3 separate regions of the Homo sapiens genome follow, and regions 2 and 3 are each linked to region 1. Evidence: promoter capture Hi-C in human tissues and cell types (Jung and others, 2019). All regions are on one chromosome and are shown on one strand. The core of a region is centred on a gene start or on the middle of the fragment in contact, and the rest is flanking DNA. Distances in the headings are between cores, read along the strand shown. Region 1 holds the start of SH3BGRL2 (SH3 domain binding glutamate rich protein like 2). Region 2 overlaps LOC100506851 (a long non-coding RNA gene). Region 3 overlaps LCA5 (lebercilin LCA5).

Region 1 (3,556 bases), core at 346-2,845:
TAGTACAGTGTGTCTTGTTCTGTCACTATTTCTGTATCTGTCTTTTTCTTTCCTAGACAATAGGTGCTCTGCTGACAGAGAAATGACTCGTTCAACTTTTTATCCATTCTTGTACCTTTCACAGAGTAGGCTCTGAGTTCCAATTATTTGAGTTTAACTATATCTTCATAGCTGAATAATTCCAAACTGAAGAAAATGCTGACTTTTATAAAGATTTGCATTTATATAGGAAATACGGTATCTACTTTTAAGAAAATTATTTTCTATTTTATAAACGTGCATTTCCACATTTATGGTAGCAAAATTAAAGTACATTTGCCGAGAGATACTAAAGACAGCAAAACTTCTATTTAAAATTTTAAACACGAAGAAGAAATAAAGTCCCATTAGGAGTGTCTCTTCTATTATTGAAGGAAATTTAAAAAGATTCCTACTACAGAAATGGCTTTAAGAAAAGCAATAGGAAAGGTTATAAATTTGAAATATTCATAACTGTTCTAAAAAATACTTCATAATGATTGCTCTTTGTGCAAGAAATGTATCAAAGAGCCAGAGACCTCATCATCTAATTTCTTACTTTTTCTTAATTAACATTGTTCCCAGACCTCTGCTAAACTCCCGTGTTGAAAGGAAAAAAGTAAATACAGTACAGCAGGGAAAACTGGTTCCTTTCGACAAAACTGAGAGAGAGGCTTGAGCTTTTGTCAAACAGAAAGCACTTGATAAAAAACTATTCCTAAACTATTAGCAACTATATAGAAGCTTTTTATTTAACAGCATCCTCCTGGGAAACTGCGCTGGAATGTGCAGCGGTTCTGAAAAAGGCACAGATTTGGCTGAACTGTAAATATTAGGTGCACAGAGGCGAAGCCATTGTGTAGGGAGGGGTGGGGCAGGTAGGGTCCTGATTTCCAATGTTGATAGAAGGATTCCAATTTCGTTTGGTATTTATTTTTTTCTACTACAATTACAGTTTTGCTGAGAAAAATAAAATATTGGTTGTGCTTCCATCTGGGTTTCTAATTTTCAGTGTGTACAGACAAGAGAAGACCTCTCATTTACCCAAAAGAATCACCTTTCTGCAATCTCCAGTGCTACTGGACAAACAAACGAGCCCAACCCCACCGCCCACACCTCCCAAGCACCCGGCTCGCCGATCCCGCCTGCTTCAGGTAGCTGGGGTTTGCCCGGTACGCCAGCGGCCCTGAGACGATGTGTGCCCGCAGCACGATCGTGTCTGTTGGCATTTCTGGGTGTGGATGCTCCAAACCAATAAACCACAATACAGAACCCAAGCTTGGACTTTGAACCGAGCCCTTTTGCCTAGTTTGCTTTTTCCTCATCAAGCCAGGATCCTTGCCAACCCACCTCACAGCTTCTGCCCGGGCTGTGGCTCCCCTCCAGCCACCTGCGCGTGTTCGGGATAGAAGCGCGGTCAGGAGGGGAGCTCAGTCCACCAGCCACTCCAGGGAGAGACGGAAACTACAAATCCCATCAAGCCCCGCAGCCGGCTCCCTCCTCCTCCCTCTCCTTCCCCTTCAGCCTGCGGCCGGGCGGCGCTGGGCTTTTATCTGCGGACCCGCCGGGAGGGAGCCAGATCCCAGCGATCTTCCCCGACGGCAGCGCTTTACCCAGAGGCTGCCGGCGGCTCGTAGCTGGGTTCAGCTCTGCGTCCACGCCAGCCCGGAGCCCGGGGGGCAAGGGGTCTGTCCCGGGCGCAGCGAGAGGATGGTCATCCGCGTGTTCATCGCCTCTTCCTCGGGCTTCGTGGCGGTGAGCGCGGTGGGGGCGGGCAGTAGGTTGGGGTCGCGGGGCGCGGGTCCTGCGGGAGGCGCGCGGCGCTCGTCACTGCGCGTCCTTGCGCTCAGCCGGTCCGCCCGCGGGAGCCCGCGCCCGGCAGGTGATCCATCACACTCCGACAACAATGAAGAGGGCGGGGAGGAAAGGTGGGTGGGGGACCCCGGCCTCACCCAAATGCCCACCCTGCGTGGCCTGAAAGGCAGACAACGCGGCCTGAAAATGGAGTCCGAGGGAAGCCCCCAGCTCCTGTTGTGTGGCATGGAAATTTGGGGAACGGGTTGTTCAAGAGCTTCGGGGATCCCCCTTCCCCTAGTTTAGTTCTTCCCGATTTGGGACCTTCAGACTGGTTATGTTTTGCACGGGAGCCTTTTCTGCTGCTTTGGTTTGTTACCCTAGCTCCTGAATGAAGCAAGTTTAAGTGGGAATTGCTCTCTGTCCTCCCTTCCCCGCCAGCAAGTGCATTTGTTTAGTTTTATACCTGCGCAAAGAGAATAGTAAAACTAGGTTTGTCCTGTTGTGGTAGGATTGTTTGCTTTCACTGTCATTTTTTTTCTTAGGGTGCCATAAATATTTTTACATCTTTATGTAAATGTGTGTGTATGCACGCATTTTCTTTCCACCTGTAATGCTGTGGAAATTTTATCCTGGGGATCTATGAATTGTGGTTTTCTATTTAATTATTTTTAGCTATTCTCTTTGGTGGATGTTCTTGAATTTTTTTAGAGAAAAAAAATTTTTTTAAAGAAAGGAAAGTTAAATAGCTAGAGATGTCAGAATTTAAGGAAAATTCAGTAGTTAGTATATTTGACAGCCCACTAAGGGACATAGCACATGTGTTTTACATGATTATTGAGACTTGGTTTCCTTAACCAAGAGTTCAGCTATAGATTTAAGAGCCTCCTTTGTGACATATATAATCAAGTAACATCAAAAAGTGCATTGTAGATTGCTTAAATTTGGTCTGGTCAATTGTCTGCCCAGTAGCTCAGTCAGATTGTTCCAAAATTTGTTTCTTAAGTGGGTGGAGTGGAGGATGGAATAAAATATTGTTTGAAAATCCTTGTACACCACTGAAGTTTTTTATTTAAAAAGAAACCAACACGATCATACAAAGCCCCTCCACCCCCATTTGCACTAGAAACAATAGATGGGAAAATCCAACTTACACTTATGTGCAGTCATGTTGGGGTCCTCAGACTTCTGACAGTTTCTGGTGTTTCTAGCTATTTGGGTTGCTTAGTCATGCCTGCCTTTTGTAGATTTCCCCACTGAAGCCACACTTCATGTGTTTGCAAACTGGCACTGTTTCAAGGGTAGATTTGTTCAAATGCACTCCTTACTAAGAATGCTACAAAGCTCTTGGTTTCACCACCGACTTGCATGCTTCAATAATTGTCCCAATAGCATTATATTGATTATGGAAGGAATGGTTTTTATCCCTTCCACAAGAGATAAAGCCTAGGCTACTTTGGAGCAAGTCGGACCAAGTCAAGGTAATGACTTGGCTTACTCTATTAGTAGGTAGTATATTGAGATAGTTTTGGTACTCCACATCTTTGTTTTTTCAGTGCCATTGGCAAATATTTATTGCCTGCCTGCTGTGTGCCTTTTTAACTTTTAAATTTAATGTTTTGTGTTTTGCACATGGAGCTAAAATTAAGAGACTTAAGTTTTAGTGTGGGCCCCAACTAGTGCAGTGTAAGCCTGGTTAAGGTACCTCATCTCTGCCTGAGTTTCTCTTCTGTAAAATGAAGGA
Region 2 (3,556 bases), core at 486-2,985, 190 kb before region 1:
CAAAATGGCCTGATGGGCCTCCAAAGCCCTGGTGAAGATGACCAGCAAAGGTAATTAAGTCCAAAGATAGAATTTGTGATAAGGGAGAAGAGTCTGCATTGGTGACCCTGATTCAGTGTCAGGGCCTTAATCAGATGGAGGAAGCACTCATTCTGGACTTAGTGCACAGCTGATACCAAAACTTCCTTGGACCAGTACCTCCAGCGCTGTGGGTGTATCCTGACGAAAGGACTGAGGTTGTGATTGTATTATATATGGCTGATTCCTAGACAACTTGAAATCAAGGCTATGTGTCTTGTGGGACAACCATGGCTGAGTCTGTGGAGAAAGGGGTAGTTCCCCAAGGAACATATTGGTTATTTTACCAGCAAAAACGCAAATGAATAGCAGGCAAACAAAAACAACTGATTACACCATAAATACTAAAAATGATTTACCCCTTTTATAAAAGGTAAGCAAATGCCTATGCCTTTCTCAAGTTCAAGAATTATTATAACCATGCTTCCATTTCCAAAAGAAGGAAACTGTACCCATAGTGACTGTATAGAAAAAGAAACACAACAGAGGTTCAGAGTCATAGCTGGGCTGACTGCCTGCACACACCCAGCTGTTCTCTTAAAATCACAAAGCCCGTGGAAGTTCCAGACTCTGTTGTTTTGGCCCAAATTACATATTTCAACACTTTATTGTTTGCTTTTGATGTCTGGGTTAGTAATTTTCATGCAAAAAGGACCATCTGGGAAAAACATTTTTTTGTGTCTCGTGGGTTCTTTATGGATAAGCAAAAATGCTCATTATTTAAGCAAAAATGTTTTTAATATGGAGCTGCAATGATGTTGTGAATAAGGAGTTATATCATTGTGCTATCCACTTCTATGCCCAGAAAAACAGAAACACATTGCTTTGTATTCATGAGGAAAGTGTAGAGATCACTGCAAGAAATGTGTTTTAGAAATAGCCCCAAATATTACTCTAGAATACATTCTTTGTTATTAAGCTTTGTTAATAGCATAAGGAAAACAAATGCTTCAGTAAACTTTTTCACATGATCTTTCATAAAATTACAACATTTCTTAATATATTTTTAAATCAAGAAAGCCACATATACAATATTAACTGGGAAAGAATATTTTAAAAAAAACAATTCTTAAAAATAACAGATTGGCATAATCAAATCAGGTGAGTTCTGGTGATTACTGAGAAATAAAACACCTGGATTTAATAAATCTTAAAGCACTTAACCATGTAATAAAGCACAGAGCAATGGAAGAAAATGTGTAAATTTGAAGTCTCATCTGATTTAAAGTCACAAAAATGAGGATCACACAAAATACTCTCGCCTTCCTGGGCAGAAGTGAATACATCAACACTGCAGGCTATGACAGTGTAGTAGCTATTAACCCATTGTGGATAAACAATTAAAAAGCTTGATTACCCAATGTAAGATAATGTAAAGTAGCACTCTTCAAACGAGTCTGGGTATATCAGAGTACATGCCGACTTGCCCTAAGAGACCATGTTGGGTGGGGTCATGGGGGGTGGCTTTAAAGAATCCAGGTTCTTAAGTGAATTAAGTCAAGAACAGGAAACCAAATACAGCATGTTCTTACTTATAAGTGAGAACTAAGCATTGTGGGAGCTAAGCATTGGATACTCATGGACATAAACATGGGAACAATAGACACTAGAGACCACTAGTAATCTACCTATTGGGTACTATGCTCACTGCTTGAGTGATGGGATCATTCATACCCTAAACCTCAGCATCATACAATATACCTATGTAAAAAACCTGCACATGTACCCCCGAACCTAAAATAAAAGTTGAAATTAATAAATAATTTCTTTAAAGAATCCAAGTCCTTACCCTCCATATGTTCTCTTTCCTAAAACACACCTGCCTACAGTATATCCCTCTGGTAGTTCTCCTCTTATCTCTCACCACTATCACCTTTCTCCCAATGTACTCAAGAACAAACCTTTTACTCTTCTTGAATCCAACTACACACATTTTTCCAGGGTGGAAAAAACCCTCATCAAACCAAAGGGTTTAAAATGTCAAAATTGAAATATGATATATTGGCAGAGGAAAAGAAAAGAGATTATCAGTAAGAAATATTGAAGGCATAGGTGTGTTATTTTGTACAAGTGACAAACTTATGAAATAATTTTTTATCAAAGGTTTTTATCTATTTAACTAGAATATTTAACCGGAAACCATGCTAGGAAGTTCCAGTCGGTTAAGATGTGTGTTCTCTCTGCATCTTTATGATTCTCAGTAGTGAGAATGAGCTTGATAATTTGCATTATTAACCTGCATCATGGCCTGTGTCTCAGTTGCATATGTGCATGGTTTCAAGGAAGAAGCGACAAAAATGTCCATGTTTACTTGCATCAAGTTTTTCCAAAAAGGCCATTTATAAGAAAAATCATCTTTATTTTATTTAACAGAGACACGAATCTCCTGCTCACTGTCACTCCTCAGTTATTGTGTTTATTCAACTATTTGATGTTGTTTTGTGATACATAATTTATTTAATAGCAATCATCAATTTACTTTTTGTAAACTCTACAATTACTAGGGACTCAATACCTTCTCTTTTCTTTGCTGGTAATTCCCAGCAGAGTAAACTGGACTCTTTAAAATAAAACATTTACTTAGGTATGGGTGTATGATATCCCTCTGCCCCCTGTAGAGAGGGGACTGGCTCATAGTGAATCCTAGGCTTCTATTGTCCCTTGCTCCCTATCTGTAAGTAATAAGCCTGCTTCATGGAACTTGTATGTGACAGTTCTATCTCACTGGATTCAGACAAGTTGGTAACCAGTGCACAGTGAACCTGTGTCACACTGTTGGCTTAAAACCATCATTTAACTCTCACAGTTCTGCTGTTCAGGAATTTAAGCAGTGCTCAAAAGGGAAAGCTCATTTCTGCAACATGTGCATTGACTGGAGAATCCATGATAGCTTTGCTCACATGTCACATTTCTCTAATGTTTGACTGAAGTGGCTGGGACCTGGCTGATCCTCTCTATCTCTCCCTTCACAGGCTCTTATACTCTGGGGCCTCTTTTTCTGCACATGCTCTCTCTTTACATGGATTCTTTATATAGCTGCTTGTTTCCTCTCTGAGTGAAAACAGAAGCTATATGACATTTGAATGTCTGGGCTCAAAAATCCAAGCATATGACTTCTGCTGCATTAAACTTGTCAAAAAAATCACAAGTTCAGTGCAGATTCAAGGTATGAGTAAACAGATGTGCTCTCTCGGTCAGAGAACTGGCAAGTGCATAAATAATTCTTACTGGCTGTAGTTACATACAATCTCCCACAGTCTGCCCTCTGGCCACAAAAACTCACATTACTTCCATATGCAAACTATAGTCAACTGTTCCAAAGACTCCCAAAGTCTCAACAAATTATAATATCAAATCCTATGCCCAGTATCTCTTGATCTACATTGGGATCATACAGATGTGCATGAAATTTCATAAGTGCAGCTCCTTTTGATATGAACTGTGAAGCAAAAATGCAAGTTATCTGTACCTCCATGCC
Region 3 (3,556 bases), core at 384-2,883, 130 kb before region 1:
TGATGGCCAGGTGCGGTGGCTCATGCCTGTAATCCCACTTTGGGAGGCCGACGCGGGCAGATCATGAGGTCAGGAGTTTGAAACCAGCCCGACCAACATGGTAAAACCTCATCTCTACTAAAAATACAAAAATTAGCCAGGCGTTGTGGTGCGCACCTGTAATTCCAGCTACTCAGGAGGCTGAGTCAGGAGAATCGCTTGAACCCGGGAGGTGGAGGTTGCAGTGAGCCACTCCAGAGTGGGCGACAGAGTGAGACTCCATCTCAAAAAAAAAAAAAAAAAGAAAGATATGATTAAGTCAACTGACAAAAACTGTACTACAGACAGTAGATTAGAGGAAATCATTATATAAGTGTAAATCATAGTATAACCATAATTTTACTATGGTTCTATAAAGGGCATAATCCCTATTCTGAAAAAATACACACTGATGCATTTAGGGGTAAAGAGCATGATGTATGCAAGTTACCCTCAAATAGCTAAAAAAAAAAAAAGTATGTGTATATATGCATATGACAGAGAGACCACATGAGAGAGCATGCATGCATATTATAAGACAAATGGGATAAAATGTTAGCAACAGACGAATCTGGGTAAACTGTATAGGAGTGTTCTTTGTACTGTTTTCAGATTTGCAATTCTCTGTAAGCTTGAAATTATTTCCATATAAAATATTAATTTAAAAAATCCTATCCCCCCCTAGATATTTTGGAGCAAAACAGGAAACCATTAAACTCAATGAGAACATGTTAAAAAAAATACCAGGGCTAAAAAATACTTAAGTTCCAAATGATAATAACTGTCAACCTGGAATCCAGCAAGACCCAGTAAAATTATCATTGAAGAGTGAAGATAAAATACATTCAGACAACTACTAAAAAGTGTTGCCACTCAGAAGCCCTCACTTAAACATATATTTCAGTAAGAAAGGAAGTGAACCCTGAAGGAACAATAATGAACAATGGTGACATGCAAGAAATAATGGTAAACTAAAAAATACTATTAAAATATTAAGAAGAATTTTTTTTAAAAATTAAAAACACTGTTAAAAATTAAAAGATTAAGTAGAAAAAGAAACCAAAAAAGCAAAAACAAACTCCCAAATGAGGAATAAATCCAGTTTTCAGTGGTGAAATCTAACAAATTTTAAGAAACAGATTATCTGTAAAAGAGAACAGAAAGGAAAAACTCTATGTCATTTTTGATGAGATTTTTTTATAATCTTGATGTCAATAGTGGAAAAATAAAATTGTACACCATTCCAAAATATGAATATTGTTGCAAAAGTCTCAAACAAATATTAGCAAAAGGAATTTAGCAATGTGTAAAAATTGCATCACAACTAAACAGCACCTATCCCAAGAAGCAAAGAACGAGAGTAGTTTCACATTCAAAACAATCCATGATTTAAAACAAAAACCCTAGCAAGCCAGTAGTAGAAGAAAATTTCCTTACACATAAATACACACACAAATTCACAGAAAAAGATCCAGAAGGATACATACTAAGACACTAAAAGTGGTGACATCTGAGTGGTAAGAATGAGAATGTTTTCATTTTATCTTTTAATTTTTCTCTAATTAAAAATATATATACATGTACTACTTATTTAAAAAAAGCTTCTAAAATATGTTTAAGTAAAAATTAAAATGCTTAGAAAAAATATATCCTACAACTTCAAAAGAGTAGTTACTTCTGAGCAAGGAGAGTAGAAAAAGGATGTTTGGAGAAAAGATACAAGGAAACTTCAGTTTAAGATCTTAATGTCAGCTTATTTTAGCAAAATAAGATCTAAAGCAAAAATAGAAAAATATCAAGTAGGTACATGAATGTTTTAAATATTCTTTTTCTGTATATTCAAAATATTTCATAAAAAATATTAGAAGTACTTTAAGAAATTAAAGAAACAATCAATAAGGAAGAAAATGCAAATAGTAGTTATCTTCGGCTGGCAGGACTATGGATATTTTTGCCCCACTTTTTTTTTTCCTTTTTTTTAAATTTTATTTTATTATTATTATACTTTAAGTTTTAGGGTACATGTGCACAATGTGCAGGTTAGTTACATATGTATACATGTGCCATGCTGGTGTGCTGCACCCATTAACTCGTCATTTAGCATTAGGTGTATCTCCTAATGCTATCCCTCCCCCACTCCCCCCACCCCACAACAGTCCCCAGAGTGTGATGTTCCCCTTCCTGTGTCCATGTGTTCTCATTGTTCAATTCCCACCTATGAGTGAGAATATGCGGTGTTTGGTTTTTTGTTCTTGCGATAGTTTACTGAGAATGATGATTTCCAATTTCATCCATGTCCCTACAAAGGACATGAACTCATCATTTTTTATGGCTGCATAGTATTCCATGGTGTATATGTGCCACATTTTCTTAATCCAGTCTACCATTGTTGGACATTTGGGTTGGTTCCAAGTCTTTGCTATTGTGAATAGTGCCGCAGTAAACATATGTGTGCATGTGTCTTTATAGCAGCATGATTTACAGTCCTTTGGGTAATTTTTTTCCCCACTTTTACTGTAAATTTCAAAACATCTTTAAACAAACACGTTAATAATACAATAAAATTTAAAATACTTAACATTTTTTCCAAAGGACATATCACAGAATTCTGTCTTGTTAATGGAAAGAAATAAAGGATTAACATAATTTAAAATTTTTGCAAGCAAACACAAAGGATAAGTTATTTTACCTTCATTTATTTTTTATTAATTAGTAAAGGATTATAGATTTAAATAACAATATTGCATTTGTTAAAATAAGTCTATCAATGTCAGCTGTTTTAACATCTGTTCAGTGTTGTTATAGCTCAATTCTAAAGATTCAGATCCTTGTGTAAGCAAGGACCCTGCAGGTCTCCAGTCCACCTTACAGTAATACTTTTTTACAGTATTCCTAGAAGGTAGACATTGAATCTGCACAAATACTTCAGGAAGCAGAAAGCTTGATAATGCAAAGCATACTGGTTTCATTATTGGACAATTCCAGTTATTAGGAGGCTCTTTTGAATGAGAGGAAACCAGTTTTCTAGTAATATTCATTAGGTTTGTATTGCCCTCAGGAAATAAATCCATTTCTCCTGCTCCATGTGACAGCCCTTTAAACAATGAAGTAAGTTACATTTTTCCTTATATTTTCTATGATTCTGTGTTTCTTCCACTGTTTCTTTTATGTCAGCTTTTTGACCCCCTGGTTATCCTGTTTGCCTCCATATGTCAGTTTGTTACCTAAAATCTGGTACTTGCTATTAGATGTGATCTGACCAATAAAATTAGAGTTATTATTACCTCTTAGGACAAAGGTATCACCATAGTGGGTTAACTTCTTCCCTTCTGATTTTTTAAGTGGCCATACAATTATAGGTTCATATACTTAAAAAATTACGCTTTAACTTCAATTACTTTTAACCCAGGGCTCCCCATAGTGTACGCATAAAATAGATGGAAAAACTTTGAAGTGAAACAGTTAACCTGACTAAACTTTATCTTGCTTATTTTAGGCCAGATTTTGAGCCTAGGGGGATCAATCTTGATCTTGTCAT

The links. The method cuts DNA at HindIII sites, captures the fragments that hold promoters and counts their contacts. A contact is called where the count stands out against the background at its distance.
Region 2: a contact is called between a fragment that was not itself captured here and the fragment with the promoter of SH3BGRL2 in region 1, in 1 of the 25 tissues and cell types used here (H1 embryonic stem cells).
Region 3: a contact is called between a fragment that was not itself captured here and the fragment with the promoter of SH3BGRL2 in region 1, in 3 of the 25 tissues and cell types used here (adrenal gland, dorsolateral prefrontal cortex and mesendoderm cells).

Annotation. Positions count from the first base shown.
Region 1 is chr6:79,629,734-79,633,289 of GRCh38, forward strand. It overlaps SH3BGRL2 (SH3 domain binding glutamate rich protein like 2), which reads left to right and starts at 1,596. Exons shown (of 4, transcript NM_031469.4): 1 at 1,596-1,773. The coding sequence starts at 1,729. The HindIII fragment of the contact is 5,139 bases long and covers 1,030-3,556 here.
Region 2 is chr6:79,437,608-79,441,163 of GRCh38, forward strand. The region is part of intron 5 of LOC100506851 (a long non-coding RNA gene); the gene reads left to right. Among named protein-coding and RNA genes, the nearest start is that of LCA5, 98 kb to the right of the region's middle. The HindIII fragment of the contact is 6,028 bases long and covers 1-3,556 here.
Region 3 is chr6:79,497,692-79,501,247 of GRCh38, forward strand. The region is part of intron 3 of LCA5 (lebercilin LCA5); the gene reads right to left. Among named protein-coding and RNA genes, the nearest start is that of LCA5, 38 kb to the right of the region's middle. The HindIII fragment of the contact is 3,539 bases long and covers 1-3,403 here.